3 separate regions of the Homo sapiens genome follow, and all the other regions are linked to region 2. The links are contacts of gene promoters, found by promoter capture Hi-C in human tissues and cell types (Jung and others, 2019). All regions are on one chromosome and are shown on one strand. The core of a region is centred on a gene start or on the middle of the fragment in contact, and the rest is flanking DNA. Distances in the headings are between cores, read along the strand shown.

Region 1 (2,726 bases), core at 187-2,686, 580 kb after region 2:
CAAATAAGGAGGAAGGACTGGAAGAAGAACAGGTTTGAGAAGCAGGGCAAGTTTGACGTGACTATTAGACATGCGTCTGGAGAAATCAAGCAGGTGTCTGAATTACAGATCCTGAGCTCAGAGCTGAAAACATGAATTAGTGAAATAAGGGGCGGGGGGGGCGGTGCTGGGGCACAGGGATATTTAAAGCCAAGAATTCAGCAAAGACCATAGGAAGAGCGTAGATAGGGAATGAGAATCGCCATTACTTGGAGGATGCCAACCTTGAAGGTAAAGCAGAGAAAGTGGCACCAGCAGAAGAAAACTTGATGTGGAGCGGCAGGTAAAGTGGAGGAGAAACCAGGAGTCGCTGTCACACACGAACACCCATCTTTCGTTGTCAACTGCAAAACTCACTGAGACCAACTTTTTATTCACGACAATTAATGGTAACTTAAGGACTCATTTTCTTTTTCTTTTTTTTTTGAGACAGAGCCTCGCTCTGTCGCCCAGGCTGGAGGGCAGTGGCGCGATCATGGCTCACCGCAGCCTCGACCTCCTGGGCTCAAGCGATCCTCCCACCTCAGCCTCCAGAGTAACTGGGACAACAGGAGCGCACCACTCTGCCTGGCTAATTTTTTTATTTTTAGCAGAGAAGGGAGTCTCGCTGTTGCCACGGCTGGTCTCGAACTCGCGGGCTCAAGTGATCCGCCCACTTCGACCTCCGCCACCGCGCCCGGCCCTAGGACCAACGTTAAGAGCTCCCTAGGAAAAGGCACCTTTTCTCTCGGCCCATTCGGTGATCGGCACTCACAGCGCTTCCACTCCGGGCAGTTACGTGCGCCCATGAAAAGCAACAACTTTGTAGAACTGGCCAGTCCTGTTAGCAGGAAGAACTCGGTAGTCTCAAACTCCAGCATAAAAAGATTCAGCAGAAGAAAACACCCGTGTGCTGAAGACTCCTACTTTCCATGCCACACTTTACATCCTCACCCGCTCGGTTTCTGCTTTAAAGCAGCAGATTTTATTAAAAAGACTTCGTTACGGACGTCGCTCCTCCACAGAGACAGCTACCGCCGCCCCTCAGGCTGGCCGGGACCGCCCCAGAACACCAGCGCCTGAGGCCGCGCGCCTGGAGGCTGAGCCCTGACTGCCCCCTGGGCACCGGCGCGGGGCGGCCGTCCGGGCCTGGACTCACTGCGCGCCCCAATTCCGCACCTGCCAGCGCCGGCGCTTCCAAGGCCCCCAGAGCGGGGGCGGCGCGCACCCCGGCCACATCCCGCCTGCCCGCCCGGCCCGGCCCCGGGAGACGCTCGGCCCGGCCGCCCGGGCCCGCCGCCGCCATCTTACCGTGCGGAACCTGCCTCCCGCGCTGCGCGGTCTGGGCGGCTGCGGCTCCGCAGCCTCTCCTGGGCTGGGGAGAGGTGGCGGCCGCCGGGGCGCCCGAGTAGAAGGAGGCAGAGGTGGGGGCCGCGGCGGAGGCGGGGGCGGGGGCGGGGGCGGGGAGCGGGAGGGCAGGCGCACCGGAGGCCGCCCCTCAGCACCTCTCGCGACAGCAAGAGAGCGCGAGAGCGCGAGCCGATGACCAATGAAGCGCCCCCGCGAGGGGGCGGGGCGGACGGCCTCCCGGAAGCGCGGAACCTCAGCTTCCGTACTTGCGCAGAACTCCCCTCGCGGCGACCACGCACTACGGGTTGGCGCCAGAGTCAAAAGGCGTCGGCCCTCTGGCAAGATGGCTGCTGCGGAGGCGTTGGAGCGCGGAAATCTGGAACCGGGATGGCGACGTCTACACTGAGTCGGAGGCGAAGGTCCCAGCTTTTTTCCTGTCGTTTGCGTGAGGCCGCACGGGGTGGGGCGGGGGAAAGGCGCCGGGTGTCCGCGGCCGCCCCTCAGACGGGGAGGGAGTCCCCTCCCGACCGGCGGCCTTCCAGGGCTAGTGTCCCTGAGGTCCAGGGAGAGACGGCTGACCCGAGACCGGGCTGGGCGAGAGCTGTGCTGTCTGCGCGTTGAAGCGAGTTCCCCCGCTTTACTCGAGATGTTGTTGAGCGCGTCCTCACTCGAGGCCAGGTGGGGAATCAGAAGGGCCCTGCCCTCAGGGCGCCTCCCATGGGCTACGCCGAAGGGCGGGACGCGGCCAGGGCGCGCGGGACAAAGGAGACCCCACTTGCTTGCGGGGCGGAGTCCCGGCGGCGGCGCGGGGCAGGGCCGGGGTTACTCGGTGACTGGAGACCCTCCCGGCAGGAGCGCGGGTTGAGGCCGCACTTGGGTATTTGCGCGTTTACTTGCTTATTGCCTGTCCGCTCAGGAGGAATGCGAAGTCTGTCATTGCAGGGTCCCATGTTTCCGTTGCTGGGAAGTACCTTAAAATATTTGATAGAGCCGAAGGAAGAAATAGAGTCCTTGAGGGGCAGCTCCTGATTTCATCTGTGAGGAATTCACGGGACGGCTTCTTTCTGAAGTCAGGGGTGAGGTGGTTTCGTGTGTTTGCTTACAAGCGAGCTGAACAACGTGTAAGCTATGTCGGTCGGTCTACTCAGCGACAGTAAGTCCAGTTCGGCAAATAGGTTGGAGGAGACTGATTTTGGACATTTTCCGTTAATCGAAAGAGCTAAATCTGCAGGTATAAGGTCTTGACAAAATTATGCTTCATATGCAGAGGCAGTACATGCCAGTAATTTTTTCATTTGCAACTACATAACCCTATGGGAAACAGTTATTGGTCTTTATTTAGTTATTTATTTTGAGAC
Region 2 (2,700 bases), core at 150-2,649:
ACTGGCTGCTTGGAGTTTATTTTCCGCTTGGTGCCAGGTGCACAGTTCCAGGTGTCAGGAAAGCTAGCGAGTGCTGGGGCCGGGCGGTAGAGAGCGGGGCTCTCACTGGTTTTTGGTGTCTGCTGTGTTGATGCGAAGGTCTGCTTGCTGCAGCCGCCTAGTTTACAGGGTGGGGGGTGGGAGGTGGGGAGGGGGGCGAGGGATGCGGAGTGGGGAGAGGGGCGGGGAGGGGCTCTGGTGGACTAGCGCCTCCGCAGGCCTGGGGCTGGTGGTAACCGCTCAGGTCAGGACGGGGGCCCAGCGCTGGCTGTGCTGGACTGACCGCCGGGCTGCTTCCTCGGGGCGTCCCGAGCCAGGCCACAGGCGGTCATGCTGCTGGAGGCCTGGGGAGGTTCCGAGTGCTCTGCGGACTCCAACACCGTGGCCATGAACGGGAGGGTGGACTTCCCGAAAAAGAAGCTGGCCCACCAATGACCCGGGTCAGCCTTGGGGAGACCTGAGAGAAGCGAAGTGGGGTCTTGATGCTGCCAGCTCCTGGAGGAGCGGGGGGAGAAAGGGGCGATCCTGCACTCACCTGGGGGGTGGGGAATGGCTTCCCCGGGGCACTCGGTACTGCTGCAGGAGCTGTTGCTGGAAGTGGAACCCAGGCGGCCTGGAGAGGAGAGGTCCCGTCAGCAACGCGGGGCGCGGAGCCCCCCAGCCCACCGGCCTTCAGGCCGAGCGCTGGTTCCGCAGCCTGCACGGGGCCGGCACTGGCGCCAGCAGAGCATCCGCGTGGATGGGGGGCAGGGGCTACTCACGCCGGTAGTAGTCGTGGGTGGCCACGAGCGAGCCGCTGGAGGGGATGGCCGCCATGCTTTAGCTTGCTGGCTGGTGGGATCTGCGCATGGGGGTGGAGGAGCCCCTCGGGTCAGCGGCCTTCCGTCATGAAGGGCGCTCCCCAGCGGGTGGAGCCGCCGCGCTGGGTTATTTACCGAGGCGGGGCTCCCCAGCTCCCGGCACCGCCTTCGCCGCGCGGGGCGCGGGCGGCTCCAACCAGCCCAAACCGGCCGAGCGGGTGGAACAAAGGCGCTTTGTGCGCGGGGCCCCGGCCCAGACGTCGGGAACCTGGTGGGCGCCGTCCCAACCCGCCCGACCCGAGAGGAGCCCGCCGGGGACCCCGAGCCCAGCGCTCGCCAGGCGGAGAGGAGAGGAGCCCCCGGCCCAGCCCCGCCCCTCGCCCCCCGCCCCTCGGGCCTGCTCGTCCCACCCGCGCGCGGCGCCCCTCACCTGGGCGGCGACCCCTCGCGGGCCTCGGCGCACGATCACGGGTGGCGGGGACGGGGGCGCTAGGCCACGGAGCCCATTTGCAGAGAAGACCGCGGGAAGCCGCGCCACGACAGAGAGGCGCGCGCGGGGTGCGCACGCGCGGACGCGCCCACTTATATGCGCGGGGGCCGCGGCGCGTCACGGAGGGCGGGGCGCACAGGCTCCTCCCCGGGCCCCACCCGGCCCCGCCCCTTTCCTGGCCCCGGCGAGGCCGCGCCCCCAGCTTCCACCTCGGTGCGACTCTCGCCGTCTGGCTTGGGCTGAGCCCAGCCCTGCGGCGTTCGTCTTGGGGCGGCCCGGCCGGTCCTGGGTCTGCAGGGGTTAAAAGGCCCCGCGCCCGGGTCCGGGAGCCCAGCCCCCGCCCCTCTCCCGGGCCCAGGCCCCCGTCTCGGACGCGTCTCGGAGCCCCGCCTGGTCCAGCCCGCCCGTCCTCTTCAGCCCTTGTGGAGGCGACGGGGGCGCCGGGCGGGCCAAAAAGTGCTACGTGCGCGGAGCCCTCCGGCCCGGCCTCCAGGGACTTCGCAGCCAGAGGAACCTGGATCTCTCCCGAGTCCCCCTCACAGCTCTGGCAGCTCCGGAACCTGCACCCCGGTTGCCCAGCCCCAGGACGCGCCTGCTGCCCGCAGGGGGCGGTGAAAGGGTGGGCGGATGGCGGGGCAGTGGGAGGCGGGGCCCAGTCGGAGAGCGGGGCGGATTTGGGCGGGTGAGGTGAGTCTCCAGTCGCCGGAGGCAGAGGCTGGGCCCCACTGCTCGGAGACCCCATGTTTGGGGAGCCCAGAGCGTTCCCGGCAGGGCCCTGGGGCCCGGGGGACGGCCCGCCATGCCAATCAGGAGGGGGCGCGTTTTCCCTTCCCAGGCAGAAAGGCGTCCTCCCTCTCCTCCTCCCCCCAGCGCAGAATCCTCCCCACACCTCCCTCGGCCCCGCAGGGGAAATCGGCCTGCCCCTACGGAAATCCCGTTTCTTTATACACCCGGTCCTGGCTGGGCGGTGTCTTCCCCGTGGAAGAGAGGGTCCGGGAGGTCCGTGGGGCGGAACAGTCCGAGGGCTTCGGGAGTCAGCCCGGGTGGATTTGTTTCGTGGCTCTCGTTGCTGGCTGGGACGGCCGTGTGCCCGTGTTGTTCCGGAGATCGAGGCCAACGGATGCCGTACTCTGTCCTCGCCGGGTGCTCAGTGAGGACCCACAGCTGGGCAGGGACCCTGGGAGGCCCCTGAGCAAGACTTGGAGGGACGCCCTTGTGCCCCCTGAGCACGTGGGGAAGGCGCTGTCCTGGGCCCTGCACCGCTCTGTGTGTTCATTGCACGAGTGTGGTAAGCACCTACTATGTGCACATGGCCGAGCCAAGCGCAGGGAACGGTAAACCAAGGGAGAACGGCCTTCCCGTGGGGAGCAG
Region 3 (2,700 bases), core at 39-2,538, 590 kb before region 2:
AGACTTGACAGAGCAACTCTCAGGAAAGAAGGCCGACCATGAGTGTGCGGTGACATCCTTGCAACCCCACAGGCAGCGGGCACAGTCTCGATGGGCAGACACATCTCCCCAGACTGAAAACACACAGTGACCAGGCACGGTGGGTCATGGCTATAACCTGAGCACTTTGGGAGGCTGAGGTAGAGGCTGAAGCTCAGGAGATCGAGACCAGCCTGGGCAACATGGTGAAACCCCGTCTCTACAAAAAAAAACACAAAAATTAGCCAGGCATGGTGGCACATGCCTGTAGTCCCAGCTACTTGAGAGGCTGAGGTGGGAGGATCACCTGAGCCCAGGGAGGTCAGGGCTGCAGTGAGCCATGATAGTGCCACTGCACCCCAGCCTGGGTGACAGGGCAAGACCCTGTCTCAAAAAAGAAGAAAGGAAAGAAAACACAGACCCTCTGACCCAACACGTCTCCGCTGAGGAGCGGCTCTGAGACTGGCGACTGCTCGTGTCAGCTGTGGCGTTGCCTGCAAAGCAGGTCCAGATGCGGCCGAGCTGCACACACACGGGTTGGATAAGCCAGGGTGCGTCCAGCAAGGAAGAAAAGCAGGGAGAAGGGAAGGACTTAAAGACCAACCCAGAGCAGAGTGTGATGCTCACCACCTCTGCAGGACGGCGGGAGAGTTACGTGTCAGCGTGAGAACGTCTTCTCTGCAGCCTTTCACAGCTTGCCTAGGCTGAGTTCCTCTTTTAGCAAAAGACAAAAAAAGAAGGTGGGTTGCCTATGGCCAACAAGTTCTGCTTCCACATGAGGGCATACAGACCCCCCAGATGCCCACACTCAGCCAAGGACATGTAGACCCACTCAGATACAACGCAGAGCTCACCCACAGAGACCCCCATACAGGCAGACACAGGCCCACACACGTACATGTCCTAACTGGCACACACACACAGGAACACACCATGTACACACACAGGGTGGGGCAGGAGACCCACCAAGACACCCATGTTCACAGATAAGGGTGCCCAGGCCCACAGTGACTCCCGGACAGAGGCACAGATGCCTTCAGTGCCCTCTGCCCGAAGACCTGGGCACACCCAGAGGCCCCTGCATGGAGTCCCTTCCTGACACACAGGCGCACACGTGCCTCAGCCGCCCACTGAGGAGTCTGCCTGGGTAAGTGAATGCTGAGGAGACCCTGGGACAGCCGACTGCAGGCGCTACTGCAGCTCAGGGGAAGGTGGGGCCTGCCTTCCGGGCTCCACGTCAGCAAGGGGGATCCGCCTCCCTCCCTCACCAGCATCAGCACTGACACCAGGCTGGGAACCTCGCAGCCGGGGCTGAGGCAGCCAGCAGGGCAGGTCTTGAAACTCCTGAAACCTCAGCTGGAGGTCTGTCAGTGAGGACCACACCTCGCCCTCCATCCCTGCGACTGCCTGTACTGGCCAAAACCAGGAACACACCAAGGCTACCAACTTCTGGACTCGAAGCACTGGACAGGTCAGTGGAGAGAAGAGTAGCTGGACCAGCAGGGTCTGCAGCATCTCTCGGGAGGGTGTGAGGGAGGGTGCAGACTCCAAGACCCCTGAGGGAAGGACCTTCAGATTCAAGGGAGCCAGAGATGAGCTTGGGAGGTGTGTTTCCAAAGGGACCGCTTGATTCTACGCAGCCCGTGCATCTGCGGGTTGCTGGGGCAGGGACGGATCCACATCTCTTCCCAGGAGGGTGGCCAGCAGCTGCTCTCTGCGGGAGGAGGGAACTGATCTGCTGAAGTCTCACCAGGAAGAGGCGGGAGGAGGCCCCCACACACCCCACCAGGCTCCCTCTGGCCCCATGTCCTTGACCTGGCAAAGTGGCCGCAGTCTCTGCCAGAGAACCTGGAGTGGCTGTGCCCTAACAGACGGCCGGATCTCAAAGTCTCTGGTTGTTTTTCTTTCCTAGAATCCAGCCCAAGGAGGCCCCCAACCAGATACCCAACTCCAAGGCACCTCCCACCTGCCCAGGGCGCAAATCGTCAACGGTCCCAGCTACAATGCAGGCCGCTGGGCACCCAGAGCCCCTTGACAGCAGGGGCTCCTTCTCCCTCCCCACGATGGGTGCCAACGTCTCTCAGGACAATGGCACTGGCCACAATGCCACCTTCTCCGAGCCACTGCCGTTCCTCTATGTGCTCCTGCCCGCCGTGTACTCCGGGATCTGTGCTGTGGGGCTGACTGGCAACACGGCCGTCATCCTTGTAATCCTAAGGGCGCCCAAGATGAAGACGGTGACCAACGTGTTCATCCTGAACCTGGCCGTCGCCGACGGGCTCTTCACGCTGGTACTGCCCGTCAACATCGCGGAGCACCTGCTGCAGTACTGGCCCTTCGGGGAGCTGCTCTGCAAGCTGGTGCTGGCCGTCGACCACTACAACATCTTCTCCAGCATCTACTTCCTAGCCGTGATGAGCGTGGACCGATACCTGGTGGTGCTGGCCACCGTGAGGTCCCGCCACATGCCCTGGCGCACCTACCGGGGGGCGAAGGTCGCCAGCCTGTGTGTCTGGCTGGGCGTCACGGTCCTGGTTCTGCCCTTCTTCTCTTTCGCTGGCGTCTACAGCAACGAGCTGCAGGTCCCAAGCTGTGGGCTGAGCTTCCCGTGGCCCGAGCAGGTCTGGTTCAAGGCCAGCCGTGTCTACACGTTGGTCCTGGGCTTCGTGCTGCCCGTGTGCA

The links. Contacts are between HindIII fragments. The study calls those that stand out against the background at their distance.
Region 1: a contact is called between the fragment with the promoter of GID8 here and the fragment with the promoter of PPDPF in region 2, in 1 of the 25 tissues and cell types used here (dorsolateral prefrontal cortex).
Region 3: the fragment with the promoter of NPBWR2 here is called in contact with the fragment with the promoter of PPDPF in region 2 in 3 of the 25 tissues and cell types used here (dorsolateral prefrontal cortex, lymphoblastoid cells and spleen).

What each region holds. Positions count from the first base shown.
Region 1 is chr20:62,936,857-62,939,582 of GRCh38, reverse strand. It overlaps GID8 (GID complex subunit 8 homolog), which reads right to left and starts at 1,436. Exons shown (of 5, transcript NM_017896.3): 1 at 1,330-1,436. It also overlaps a transcript of DIDO1 not described here. RefSeq lists silencers at 1,066-1,195, 1,266-1,495, 1,866-1,915, 2,186-2,235 and an enhancer at 702-1,370. The HindIII fragment of the contact is 10,021 bases long and covers 1-2,726 here.
Region 2 is chr20:63,519,464-63,522,163 of GRCh38, reverse strand. PPDPF (pancreatic progenitor cell differentiation and proliferation factor) reads right to left here and starts at 1,399. Exons shown (of 4, transcript NM_024299.4): 1 at 1,270-1,399; 2 at 801-880; 3 at 575-652; 4 at 1-496. The coding sequence starts at 855. The coding sequence ends at 285. LOC102723814 (a long non-coding RNA gene) reads left to right here and starts at 1,491. Exons shown (of 2, transcript XR_430332.4): 1 at 1,491-2,700. RefSeq lists silencers at 947-1,146, 1,257-1,806, 1,867-2,116 and enhancers at 1,389-2,265, 2,266-2,700. The HindIII fragment of the contact is 19,807 bases long and covers 1-2,700 here.
Region 3 is chr20:64,106,153-64,108,852 of GRCh38, reverse strand. It overlaps NPBWR2 (neuropeptides B and W receptor 2), which reads left to right and starts at 1,288. Exons shown (of 2, transcript NM_005286.4): 1 at 1,288-1,489; 2 at 1,931-2,700. The coding sequence starts at 2,022. RefSeq lists an enhancer at 1,240-1,740. The HindIII fragment of the contact is 24,186 bases long and covers 1-2,700 here.